Regions from separate parts of the Homo sapiens genome. Here all the other regions are linked to region 1. The links are contacts of gene promoters, found by promoter capture Hi-C in blood cells and fetal thymus (Javierre and others, 2016). All regions are on one chromosome and are shown on one strand. Each heading gives the region's core, a stretch centred on a gene start or on the middle of the fragment in contact. The rest is flanking DNA. Distances are from core to core; before and after follow the strand shown.

What was found. Contacts are between HindIII fragments. The CHiCAGO score rates a contact against its expected background, and 5 or more counts as called.
Region 2: a contact is called between a fragment that was not itself captured here and the fragment with the promoter of PAX1 in region 1, in 1 of 17 cell types (M2 macrophages). The highest score is 5.4, in M2 macrophages.
Region 3: a contact is called between a fragment that was not itself captured here and the fragment with the promoter of PAX1 in region 1, in 2 of 17 cell types (M2 macrophages and endothelial precursors). The highest score is 6.1, in M2 macrophages.
Region 4: a fragment that was not itself captured here is called in contact with the fragment with the promoter of PAX1 in region 1 in 1 of 17 cell types (endothelial precursors); the score reaches 5.1 in endothelial precursors.
Region 5: a fragment that was not itself captured here is called in contact with the fragment with the promoter of PAX1 in region 1 in 1 of 17 cell types (endothelial precursors); the score reaches 5.7 in endothelial precursors.

The regions. Positions count from the first base shown.
Region 1 is chr20:21,704,308-21,706,997 of GRCh38, reverse strand. It overlaps PAX1 (paired box 1), which reads right to left and starts at 1,334. Exons shown (of 5, transcript NM_001257096.2): 1 at 1,000-1,334; 2 at 1-560. The coding sequence starts at 1,285. The HindIII fragment of the contact is 9,231 bases long and covers 1-2,690 here.
Region 2 is chr20:20,860,471-20,863,160 of GRCh38, reverse strand. No RefSeq gene overlaps it. Among named protein-coding and RNA genes, the nearest start is that of LINC03083, 110 kb to the left of the region's middle. The HindIII fragment of the contact is 2,333 bases long and covers 213-2,545 here.
Region 3 is chr20:22,295,010-22,297,699 of GRCh38, reverse strand. No RefSeq gene overlaps it. Among named protein-coding and RNA genes, the nearest start is that of LINC01427, 14 kb to the right of the region's middle. The HindIII fragment of the contact is 2,950 bases long and covers 1-2,690 here.
Region 4 is chr20:22,257,658-22,260,347 of GRCh38, reverse strand. No RefSeq gene overlaps it. Among named protein-coding and RNA genes, the nearest start is that of LINC01427, 24 kb to the left of the region's middle. The HindIII fragment of the contact is 1,618 bases long and covers 514-2,131 here.
Region 5 is chr20:22,235,989-22,238,678 of GRCh38, reverse strand. No RefSeq gene overlaps it. Among named protein-coding and RNA genes, the nearest start is that of LINC01427, 45 kb to the left of the region's middle. The HindIII fragment of the contact is 228 bases long and covers 1,199-1,426 here.

The DNA of each region.
Region 1 (2,690 bases), core at 85-2,584:
GATGCTGACGTGGCCCGCCGTGCCCGGGACCCCGGGGTGGCTGCCCATCTTGGCGCCCGTGGGCGACACGGGACTGGGGTAGGGGTACTGGTAGATGTGGTTGTAGGGCAGCGTAGGCTGCGACGGCGGCTGCTTACTTGCCTCGTACGGTCCGGGCTGCGCCAGGCTGCCGATCTTGTTGCGCAGGATGCGGCTGATGGAGCTCACCGAAGGCACATTGTACTTGTCACAGACGCCGTCGGCCAGCAGCCGGTCGCGGATCTCCCAGGCAAAGATGCCAGGGTCTCCTTGCTTGTAGTCCCGGATGTGCTTGACCACGTTGGGAGTGGTGACGCGGGGCTTGCTCCCCCCGATGGCCCCGGGCAGAATGGAGCCGGTCTCGTTGTAGCGCGCCAGGATCTTGCTCACGCAGCCGTGGGATACGCGGAGCTGCCGACTGATGTCACAGGGTCGGATGCCCAGCTGCGCCAGCTCCACAATGCGCAAGCGGATGGCGTTGGGCAGGGGGCGGCCGTTGACGAACACACCGCCCAGCTGGTTCACCTCGCCATACGTCTGCTCTGCGGATGCGCCAGACAAGAGTGAGCCGGAGGGGGAGAAAACACCCGGCGGGTTAGCCAAGGGTCCCCACGCGGAGCGAGGGACTGCACCCAGGCGCACTTCCAAAGGTGACCTGTGGGTCCCCAGACAGCTCGGAGTCCAAGGGCAAACCGCCTGGGTCTGGCTTGGAGTGGGCAAGGGCGCAGAGGAGCCGCGGAGTGGAGCGCGGCGCATTGTAGCCCTCCGTGCCCTTTCGCGACTTTTAGCGCGTCTACTTGGAACACTCCCTTCCCAGACTTGCTCAACTGCCCCCTGAAGGCTGGGGATCAGAGGAGAATGCAGCTTCTCCAGGACCCAGGACTGGGTCGCCCAGGGAAAGCGGACGAGAGGGAAGGGAGGCAGGCGGACCCGACCCACCTCATCAGCCCTCCCGAGCCCTGCCTGTCGCCCGCCCCTTACCCATAGCGAGCGGGCCGGCCAGCTGCCTGGCGCCGGGGTGGCCGGGGTGGCCGGGGCTGGGCCCGGCGCAGTCCGGGAGAGCTTGGGCGCCGCCGCCGCCGCGTGAGAGGCATAGAGGGAGGGCGCCCGAGAGCCGAGAGCCGCGGCGGCCCAGCCGCGGGCTGGAGACGCGCTGTGCGCGGCAGCGGAGCGCGCTGCCGCCCGCTCCAGGGCCTGCCGCCGCCGCTGCTGCCCCCTCCCAGGACACTCTCCACGCCCGCGACCCCAGGCCCAGGGTGAACTTCATCCGATTGGGAGAAATTCGTCTGACCGGGAGGCTGCAGCGTGCGGGAATCAATTTGACGTGTCCTCCACGTCAATCTCGGCAGTCACGCCGGAGACGCGCGAGTTGGCAGCTCATTGGTTCCCGTCACTGCGCCCCAGCGCCCCCCTCCCCGCCCTGAAACTCTACCCCCTCCTTCTATCCTCCCCCCTCGGCCCTCTTCCACCACCCCCCCGGAACCCACCCCTCTACACACACACACACACACACACACACACACACACACACACACACGTCCCAACCCCAGCTGGGCCTGGGACCTTCCACTGCTCTGAGCCCCTTTCAGCCCCCTTCCTCCTCTAGCTTTGGGAATGAGGGGGAAGTCATCTCAAATTGATTAGTGTGTTAGTACTAGTACTCGTTTTCGTTTTGGTTTTAGTTTTATTTCCGCCACCATTAATAATAAGATAGAGAATAAAAGTTTATCGTGGAAAGGTGTTTCGGGTGTGGCTCTCTCTACCTCCCCACTCCCGGGGCAGCGGCCGGGGAAGGGTGGGATCAGTACCCCAGCTGGCTGGGAGTGTCAAGGTGAGCGTCCAGCGCGGTGCAGGGCTCCTGTCAGGAAGACACAAGGCGGAACTTGTGTCCCATTCCTGGCCAGGTCCTCAATCCTTCTCTCAGGAAATCTTCACGTTTAATAGCCAACCACTCTTGGAATAGTGGGGGTGATTTCGGTGATGCGAGAGGGGCACGGTCCAAATCCTGTCTCCTACAGCCAGGCCCAGCCACCAGAACTCATCCCTCTCCAAGCAGTGACAGAAGGGGCAGGAGGCAAAAGGATCCCGATCTGCTGCTAAGGGGCGCATAGATCCGGCGCCCTCCTGTCCCCAAGCGCGACCGGCGGGAGGCCAAATGCATAGCTCCAGCTCTAGGTCTGAAGGACAAGTTCCTTTCTCCCTGGCGGTGGAATCTCGCACCACTCTATCCCAGGTGGCCTGGCCTCGTCTTTCTCCCAGCACCTGCAGCTTCAGGAAGTCTCTGTTAAACCACAGAATGGTCATTTCTCCTTCATTTAAATGAGGTTTTGCGCAGCCCTGAATTATTCACCCCTGAGATTGAACATCAACAATTTCTCTGTTTCTACCCTGCACCAAAGCAGTTCTGAACTCCCCAACCTGTGCAGCTAACTGTGTCCGGGAGCCATGCGGTGAGGGCCAAGAGGAGGAAACTCGTGGTTTTGAACATGAACTGATTTGAGGGGGTCAGGATCTGAGAGCTCTGAGGTTGAGCCCAGTAAGCACCAAAGGCATTGGGCTGAATGTGCTAGACCAGGAAGAGGGCATAGGGGAGAGAGTAGGAACAGCCGAGGTTTCTGAGACTCCCAGCGCTCCCCTGGAGGAGAGAACCCTCTTCCCCTCCCTCCTGCCCA
Region 2 (2,690 bases), core at 130-2,629, 840 kb after region 1:
CCAAAGCTCTCCAGTGCTAGGGTAACCGGACGCTAGTACTTAGGCCAGCTTTGGGGAAGTGCTGGCCTATACAACAGTGGGCATGAAATCACCAACAGGGATGCCTTCCTCACTCCAGCCCAGAGCTGGTCCAGTAGGGGGCTGAGCAGAGGGGAATTTTAATGTTGTTAGGAAACGTTGTGGTTTCAGGAGGAAGAAAACCATTTTAAGCTTAAACTCTGATCAGGAAGAAGCTCTTTTCCCCTTTATGGAATGCAAAATGCCCATACCTCCATGGAGGTGTGGCAGGAAATGCTACGGAGCCAGCCAGTGAACACAGATGAAAGCTCAGTGCCCAGGTTAGAAGGCACGAGAAAGCAAGCACCGTGTGGGACAGCCATGCCTAGCATTTCAAACGGTGCAGAAAGCCAGTTGTCCATAAGGGGCTGGGAGCACTGGCAGGAGGACCAAGATCAGTGCAGGCCCTCAGGGGACATCAAGAGAAGAGCAACTCCAAGCCACGCCACCTCTGAAATCCCATCAACTCCTTTCTGAGGAGGAACTAATAGTCTATGTCAAATCTTTTAAAGTGTTCTTACCACACACACTAATAATTATTATAATAGAGGAGATGGGAAGAAACTTTGGGAAGGGATGGATGTCTATGGCCTTGATGGTAGTGATGATTTCACTGGTGTCTGCTTCTCCCCAAACTCATCAAGTTGTACACATTAATTACACACAGCTTTATACAAGTCAATCATACCTCGATAATGTGGTTTCAAAAATATTTTTGTGCGTTAGATTTCCAGTTTATTTTCTGCATGGAAGAATGTATACAGGTCTCTCTCTCTCTGGGTGTGGGTCCAATCATTTACAAGTTCTTTTGTTATCTTCTAAAGATTTCAAATTCACAAACCTTACACAAAGGGACTGTGTGTGGCCACCACGGTTGAATGAAACTTGCCCAGTTATTACAGCCAGGGTTCTGGAGTTCTGAGAGAACTAGGCAAGTGGCTTCCCACACAGAATGATGTCTTACTGAAACTCATTTCTATTGAGTCATTTAAAGGTACAATCTGGCCAGGCATGGTGGCTCACACCTGTAATCCCAGCACTTCAGGAGGACAAGGCGGATGGACCACTTCAAGCCAGGAGTTTGAGACCAGTCTGGCCAACATGGCAAAACCCTCTCTCTACTAAAAATGCAAAAATTAGCCTGGCGTGGTGGTGCACACCTGTAATCCCAGCTGCTCAGGAGGCTGAGGCAGGAGAATCACTTCAATCTGGGAGGCAGAGTTTGCAGTGAGTGGAGATCGCACCACTGTACTCCAGCCTGGGCTATAGAGAGAGACTTCATCTAAAAAAAAAAAAAAGTACAATCTTAAAATTCTTAGGACTAGAGGCCAAAAGATGGTGTCTTTTTTTTTTAGTGCTTCTTTTCACTCCTCAATATATTTCTATGCCAAAGACTAAGAATATTTGCCCAAATTTTGCCAGCTCCATCTCTTCCCTCCTCTTCAAGAACTCTCTCTAGAGGAAGTGAGCTAAGTTCTCCAGAGCTTTCTTTCACGGGATATGGAGAAAACACATAACATCAACCACCTTTGGTGCAGGAAGAAAACTAATTAGATGGGCAATGCTGTAAGCCATATCTATTTGTTTTAGATTTTCTTCAGTCTAAAAGAGTTGAGCCTGAAATGGATAAATGTGTCATTTCCCTTGAATGTGAGTGAGTATTAGAGACTCATTCTCCTAGACCCATTGAGTACTCTGTAATTCAAGGGCTTTTTCTTTATTCCTCCAATAAAAATGTCTTGAGGTTTTCTGGAAGTGGAGACCGAAAACACATGAGGGCTTCCTCTCACTGGTTTTGACTCTGATTTTTCAAAGAAGTTGGGTGCACCAGAGATAGAGATGTGGACAAAGTGGTCAGACACACACATCGTTCACTCCGTAATGCACACTAACACACTCATAGTGATTCCGTGAGCTCTTATTTTCTGCATTTGAACATTTCTTTCTTGCTGTATTATGCTTCTACGCCTCTGTTATTAGATGCACCTGCTCATACAAGTTTGCTATCATTTATCTCACTTACAGTAACATCGAGCACACCATTAGTGTTGCTTAGAATTACCCCAGCTCCAATGAAGATGCCTTAATAGTTTTGAAGGAACGCCACCCAAATTACAGTGTGTGGGTGAGAGAGTTCACCAGTCTATAAATGTGAAGATCTTCAAGCATTGTGCTACATTCTCTTTTATTCATTTTCTCTGAAGCAGGTTAAACCTCTTGAATTAAGATCTATGCTCAGATGCCAATGGAAATGGAGTGTGTTCAGAAACTGATGTTTACTTGAATGTGTTTATTGCTTAAGTGTCATTTCTGCCTTCATCCCTTTCATTGTCTTTTTGAGCTTTGAGAAAGGAATCCAGTATTTCCAGTTTTTTCTTTATCATTTCTCCCAAATATGTGCTATTTGAGTTGTTATGGCTGAGAGCTATAATAACTTTCTTTTTTTTAATTGCCCTACTAAATTTTAAAAATAATAGTTAAGGAAGCTTTAGTTGATTTCAATTAAGAGATGCTATGTAATGCAATTAAGAAATGCTGTATAAATTGCCTTCCATTCCAACAGTGAAAAGAATTCATGTTGCTTTTTAGGATTCTACATGCCTCTTTAAGTCCATGTACAGCCTAACGCCACA
Region 3 (2,690 bases), core at 135-2,634, 590 kb before region 1:
ATCAGTATCTAACATTTGCCTCCTTCAAAATTCTGCAGAACTTTGGTCATGGCCTTACCAACTCAAGTTCTTGGCAACTTTCTTTCCTTGGCAACTTTCTTGCCACAAGAGTGATGATGAAGACTCTAGGAAAGATGTTGCCTACCGTGCTTTCTTACTTGAAAGACACAATTTTTCCAGAATGAATTTAGACCAACAAACCTGTCAGCATGGAAATCTTACCTCTCTTCTTCTGCATACCTTTTTGGCCTGCTAATAGGCATTAATTTTGAGGTCACATAACATCTGCTGCTTATGCATATAGTGATTCATTTTCTTTTGTCTGAGTAATTTATAAAGAATCTTAGGTTGGGATTAGTTTCTTCTTAATTTGTTCAGAGAGAATGAATGCCGTTTGAGTCCCATAAGAAAGATCCATCAGCATAAATGCAGGGCTAACATTGCTCACATGGCCTGGGTGGGGTGGCGCTGTCAGAACATGCTCCCTGCTGTGTGGTCAACAATCACACATCACAGACTGAACAGCAAATGCCCTGGTGGGTTTTGGCCTTGGACCCCTACTGTGAGTGTATGTACTTTTGCCCACACACGTTGTCTCCTGGCGTCCTGTGCCCGGGACAGTCCCTGCCAAACAGCTAGAAGTGGATTCCGCCGGGCGGGGCGGCTCACGTCTGTAATCCCAGCACTTTAGGAGGCCGAGGCGGGCGGATCACAAGGTCAGGAGATCCAGACCATCCTGGCTAACACGGTGAAACCCCGTCTCTACTAAAAATACAAAAAAAAAAAAAAAAATTAGCCAAGCGTGGTGGCGGGCCCCTGTAGTCCCAGCTACTCGGGAGGCTGAAGCACGAGAATGGCATGAACCCGGGAGGTAGAGCTTGCAGTGAGCAGAGATCACTCCACTGCACTCGAGCCTGAGCGACAGAGCGATACTCTGTCTCAAAAGAAAAAAAAAATAGAAGTGGATTCCTCCCATCCTTTCTTTTCAGATCTCTCCTGGCTTGACCTTCCTTCCATCTGTTCATCCTGCCTTGGTGGGGTGCTCTTCCTGACCTCACTCCTGGCCCCAGCCCCACATGTTGTATGTAGATAGCATGTTGTGTGTTTTTGTTTTTCCTGTCATAGCTTCTCTTTAGTTATTTGGCATGGATGTGTCCCCAAGGCTGCATAGCAGGGACATCTGGCACATATCTGCTGGGCAGGAGTCCACCTTGCTTTTTCTCTCCTGAGAGCCCGTTAGCTCCCATCTTTACCATCTGTGTCACTCTGCCCCCTTCTCTCTAGGACACATTCTTTCCTGAGTCATAGAGGGCTTAGAAGTTTAGGAAGAGGTTGGACTCTGACAACAGCTTCTATCCCTTTACACCTTCTGTTTTGACCTTCCTCTTGGATGCCTAGGACGGGGCCACAGCTCTGGCTGATGTCACCATGCATGCCCCACTCTGCAAACACCCAGGAACACACTTCCCATTCTTGCTGAACAGGTTCCTGAAAACTCCACAAAAAAGTAGCAAATTAACTTGCAATTAGTTGTTCCTAAGGCAAACATGCTTCAGAGGGCTTCTCACATTCTGTGTCCATTCTGCACATTTCTAGAAGAAAGTCTGACTTAAGGCCCAGTAGCTGCCACAGTTCTCAGTCCTCTTTCTCACTTGCTAATTCCCCTTTGCACCCATCTCCCCTAAAGACATTCAGCCATTGCTTCACAGGGGTACACTTGCCTCTGCATCTGTTTTCCAAAACAATTGGCGAAAATGTCCTCCCAGCTCCACCTCTGCTAGCTGAAGAGGCAACACTGTGTGAATGTGTTAGGTTGCTTATTTCTCATTGGCTGTTCTTTCCTAGAAACAACCCATCTCAAGCGGAAGTCTGTTTCATTGTTGAACAGAACAAGCAGAATGGAGAAAGTCCTCACTCTATGATTCTCCCTCTTTCCCTGGCCAGCAGGGAAACTTGCTGGAGAATCTGATCGGCACAATTAAGTGACTGAAACCATCCAGCTGGTTGTCTGGCTTTGGGCATAGCCACCGAAGCCATCGCCTGGACTTTGCAGAGCACATGCATATTTTCTCAAACTAGCTCTCTTTTGCCTTGTGTTGATTAAATTCAGAAGAGTCATAATTACTTGGATATAAGTATGCTCAACTGTGGAAATCCTGTCCTTAGAACAATCTGGTGTAACCTCCTGTAGTCAATCAAGGGCTTCAAAGAAAGCAATGGGGGCATCTAAAGTGACAACAGTTGCCTGACAAATTGCCATTTCAAATCCCTTTGAACTAGAAGAGTGAACTTAATAGCTTTCAGCTATTGATTGTTATTCTTTTAACAGGACTTTTCTTCTTGTCTTTTGGTTCGTCTGCTAAGCCCTGCTTCTGCAGCCTTGGAGACTGTTATTGCTTCCACTTTAGGTTAAAACTGAGATATTTCATACTGTTTAGTGGCTACCATCTGAATTTTGTCTTTTACTGGCTAAGTCAATCATGGCACTGGAAGGATGCCAAGAATGCCATCACTACCAATGGGGACTGCTGGTGGCAAGCTACACTAGAGCCAAACACGCTCCTGTTGAAGAGGCAATCTTAAATGAGCATTGGATATAGAGACCTGGCTTATGTCACCAGGATCTCACTTCAGGGCTGGGGAACCAAGATGGATGGAGGACTGTTCTGTGCCGGACACTTTAGATACAA
Region 4 (2,690 bases), core at 73-2,572, 550 kb before region 1:
GGGGAAAAACTCCTTTCCACTCTTGAAATTTTGGTTTTGGTTTTGTCTGTTTGTTTGTTTTACTGTTAGACTGTCTGCACATAAACAGAGAGACCAAGACAACAGTAAGCAATACAAATGTCAACCAACTCAACAGCTGAAACAGCTAAATCTAATACCCTGTAGAAGCACTCATGTACATCACCAATTTAAGAATTTTGTGAGAAATAGAGTACATTTTTTAGGTAAGAGACGAGTTCTCTATTAGGTTAATCATGATAATAACATTGATATACTTCAGGTCTTTTTTCATATAAGTAGTCTGCAAACACCTTCCTCTTTGATTAGTAATTTTTTTATTAGTGAGATACATGATCATCAAAAAATATGTACAGATGTTTGCCTCCCTTGAGAGTTGGCCAATTGCTCTTGCAAGGCAGGCCAGTTTCAAGGCCATTCAGACCTCGGGCACTACAAGGGGCAGCTCTATTTTGTGACAGGATCACTCCCTGTACTAGTATCAGAAATAAAGCTTGAAGGTGACATCTCCCAAGTGAACATTTATCTTTGTACTCAAAGGGCTGCTTTTTCATGATGACTGCCTCAGAGACTTTTTTCAAAAATGAAGCTCTCTGCCTCTGTTACCAAAATCCAAGGTTCTATGACAGCCTCATGCTTATAAAGTTTTCTATTTCTTCTGTAATATGTCTGTAATTCCGTAAGCCATGTCTCCCTCTCACTGTACCTGGCCCACTTATAAGGATGCAACTGAGGGTCCTATGTCTTCATTTAGAGGGCAGCAAGACCAATGCTCATCTTCAAACCATGAGCAGCCTCACTTAATGAGATTGTCTGCTCTACAGGCCCTGGGCAGTGTTCAGAACATGTTCCCAGAGACGTTATCTTTGTCTTTGTCTGCAAACTCGCAACATTCAAACTTGAGAGTCAGGAATGGCCTGTATTTTGGGATGCTATACATGGTGACATAACGGGGTTTCACTGGATTTGCTCAACATATTATCCAGTTGTATGACTGAATTGGTCCCATTTTTGCACAGATGTGGCTCCCAGAAACTTACAATATTTTTGAGTCATTCCATTGCTTTGGGTGCCACACATCTTGAAAGGAAAACACTGCACAGGTCAAGAAGTATAACTGTTAGCACTTGACCTCTGCTTTTGCATCAATTTCAAGCATTCACTTTGGTAAGTTGATATATTTCTAACATGTGGTATTGCTTCATCATTGAAGCTATATTTTTTTCTTACATTGTTAGTTCGGTAATAACATATTTACCTGATATTGGAATAGAACACAGGTTCTGGTTTAAGTCATACAGTAATGACTGGCTTTTGGTTTTTAATTGTACAATCTAAGTTAATAGCAAATCTCCTTTGTATTTGTGTATGTGTCTGTGTGTGTACATAATGATTAATACCACATATTGCAGCTATTTTGTTAAGAAGACCGTGGTCCACATATTGGTGGGGGAAAAAGAAAGAGAACATTACAAGCATGGAGATCATCAGAGAATCCTTGATTTGGGTCCTAGTTTTGTTTCTTGTTCCCTGTACAACTTTGGAAAAGTTATGTTGCCTGCCTTATACAGATTGGTTTAAGGATTGAGTGAGATAATTCATATTAAAATTTAGCTCAGTGTGACAGTGAAAATATTAGGAAGTGATAGCTAATATTAAGAAGTGTTATATAATTATTGTTTTTGTTACAAAATGAAGTTCTTATTCCTGTATTTGAATGTGCACATTTCCAGATGTTCAGTAAAACCATGTCTCAATGCAGACTTCTTTTGGGGGCTACCAGCTAGGGATCTTTAAGACACTATTAAGGCAAAATGTTCTGCTTCTATGTCTTCTGGCAATTTTTACACAATATAAAAATATGAATAAAAGTAAGTTAAATAATGTCTTTCTTAACACTTCCTTTCCAAAATGATAAAATAACTCATTAAGCACTTTCAAAACCTTTAAATGCAATGAAACCAATATCCTTGCCTAGCAAACAGACAGGAACAAGGGCAAGGTATCACAGAAAAAATGCTTTGCTTAAAACCCAGAAGAATTGAGTCCAAGGCTTTTCTTTGTCCCTGACTAGCTGTGTGATTTGAAGCAAATTAGTTCTCCAAGTCAAGCTTTTTATTTATTTATTTATTTATTTATTTATTTATGTATTTATTTATCTGCAAAATAGGAGAAAACATCCCCATATCCTAGGAATGCTGTGAGAGCTGCGATAAGTGTTGCACAATCACCTTTCTTATATTATGGAGAAAAGTCATTGTTGAAGCTGAAGGCGATTTCAGATGGTTTATTCAAAAAATGTTTTCGTGGTAGCCTCATCCTTCTAATGATACACATCCTCACAGGGTGACGACAAAGCATGAATGACAATGTGAGCCACTCGCACTGACGTACTTCAAGGGAAATCCTCTCATGACTTTATTACTTTCACAGTCTCAAGCCTCAGACCAGCTGTTAATAATTATTAAACTCACACTCTCCTTATATCTTTTTGGATTTCAAAAATATTTAGTATTGTGATTTGTGGTCAGGATTCTCTTGACTACAAATAATAGAAAACCCATTGGGGGAATTTTGGAAATAAAAGGAAGGAGAGATTTGGTTACCAGGATATGGGAGCTCTTGGAAGCAGGGGACCAGGGAGCCCCTTGGTCCGCCCCACTGCAATGAAC
Region 5 (2,690 bases), core at 63-2,562, 530 kb before region 1:
GCTTTGATTCCTCTTCTCTGCCCATATGTGTCACCATCCCCTGCAGTGATCCTGGCCTCCTTTCATCAAAACATGGTTATTGATTGAGTTACTATTCATTCATTAAGCTGGCTCTTACTAAGGACTATTTGGGGCCAGGCCTTGTTCCAAGAGTGAGAACACAACACTCACAGGGTTTAACTTCTATTGTTAACAAATCAACAAACAAAAATACAGTATAATGGCTGGGCACGTTGGCTCATGCCTGTAATCCCAGCACTTTGGGAGGCTGAGGCAGGCGGATCACCTGAGGTCAGGAGTTTGAGACCAGCCTGACCAATATGGTGAAACCCCGTCTCTACTAAAAGTGAAAAATTAGCCGGCCGTGCTGGTGCATGGCTGTAATCCCAGCTACTTGAGATGCTGAGGCAGGAGAATTGCTTGAACCTGGGAGGCAGAGGTAGCAGTGAGCTGAGAGATCATGCCATTGCACTCCAGCCTGGGCAACAAGAGTGAAACTCCATCTCAAAAAGAAAGAAAGTGAGAAAGAGAGAGAAAGAAAGAAAGAGAGAGAGAGAGAGAAAGAGAGAGAGAGAGAAAGAAAGAAAGAAAGAAAGAAAGAAAGAAAGAAAGAAAGAAAGAAAGAAAGAAAGAAAAAAAGAAAGGAAGGACGGACGGAAGAAAGGACAGAGGGAGGGAAGGAAGGAAGGGAAAGAGCGACAGAAGAAAGAATAAAGAAAGGAAGAAAGAAAGAAAGAAGGAAAGAAAGAAAAGAAAGAAAGAAGTCAATGGTAAGCATAAAAGAGATAAAGAATTTTTTTTTTTAAAGAGGGGAGATAGGCTATTACTGATGGAGTGGCTAGGCTAGGTGTCTCTAAGGGTTTAATATTTGAGTAGAGAACTACCTCCACTTTTAGTTGAGAAAACTGAGGTTTAGGGAGCGACGTGTCTAAGGTCATACTGTGATAGTTGAAATTTGCTGCCAAGCCTTTTCACCAAAGTCCCAACCTACAAAAGCTATCCTGAGACCTAGGAGTGTGGAGAGGGACAGATAGGTAGAGGTTCAAGCTATCTCCTGTAATGAAGGAAACGGAGAATTTTTTTCTGTCGGTGTCTTCAGAGAACATAATGTCTCTTAATAATTTACTGTTCATGTTTAAGACTAGGAAGCATCCACAAGTTTCACATGATGAAGGAATTGATCATTTAACAGTAAGCTTACCTGCTATTAAAAAGAGGAAGGGGAAGGAGGAGGAGCAGGGAAAGGAGCAGAAATCAATACTTGTCTTGGATGCCAGGCCTCACAATTGAGCTGATGGAAGAAATGCTCCCATTGGCCAAGGTAACCTGAGCATAATATGAACACCGACTTCCTCTGCATATGCCGTATTCTGGTATTTGTGGCCTCAAATGTCAGCACAAGAGAAGTCCTTTAAATTTCCAAGCTTCCTGGTTATGTGATATTGATTAGTTTTTTTTATATTTTATGTCCTGTAATTTCATTTTCAGGCTCATAAACTATATAGCACCAAACCAAGGCTGTTTCATATCTAAGAGACTTTTCAAAACCTTAAAAATAATTCTGTTTTTTTATTCAGCATCATTTTCCACTAGCTATATACCATCTTATGTTGAAAAACCTTTTCAGATGGTTTTGTTGGATGCTTTCTTCAGCTCCTGTATGGCCTACGCATGTCCATCTGGAGTTCAGGCTTCCCATCCCATTGCCCATTGACAAGTTAAGTAAGGACATGCCAGGTCTGTTTTGAGTTTATAAATGTATGTGTGAAGCAAATTCAATTCATTAACAGCTTGTGCTGAACTTTAACTTTTATGAGCATTGGATGTTTTTCTTGCCTTTCCCTACCAGGGAGAATCACATTTCAAAAAGCGAAAGCGAGAGATAGGAGAAAACAGGCCTAAGAGGCCAGCTCCTATGGAGAACGGGCTTGTGCTCTTCATGGTGGCATTTGCCAACCCCTCTAAATGCTACCTCAGGCAACCCAGGAGACACCAGCAGATAGCTTATGGGGAGAGGTAGGCTAGGAGAGGCTACTGCCCAAGGAGGATGGGAAGGGAGTTTTCCTATCTGCACTTCTATTTGTTGTTAGCTCCTGTATCCATGCAGAGCAAGGGTAATATTCTGTGGTTTCTCCCAAGTCGACCCCCTGGGCTCGTGGGCTGTCAGCAGGGTCCCTGAGAGATCCAGCCCCGGGCCTCACGTGGTCTTGGTTACACACTTTCCCAGGTGTGCAAAGAGACATCTGCGTCCCACTAGGAGTGGGACACCTGGGCTAGACTGCTCAGCCACTGAACAGAGACCAGAGGCAAAGTCCTGTCTTTCAGGTTCTGTTCTCGCCCTCGAGAAAGACTTGCCTTTGAGGTTTCAGCAAACCAGGGGGATCCCGACCTCCAGGAAGGCAATAGAAGCCGCCTGCTCCCTGGCACGCGGAGCCTCCGAGCCCTCCGCTGATGACATATGAGCTGCTGACAGTACTGCCAATGTCTGAATTAAAGTTTATGTACTGACACACGGGGCGAAGAGAGAATTTTAGAGTCAGGATGTGAAAGTTCTTTTTCTTTCCACATTGGAGGTAATTACAGGCAAGTCCCGCTCCGAGCAGAAAGGAGGGCCCAGAGCAAGCAGTGCTGTTTACTGTAGTTCCAGGTGAGCTTCTTGCTGAGAGCTCTCCATTTTCATAATGGATGTA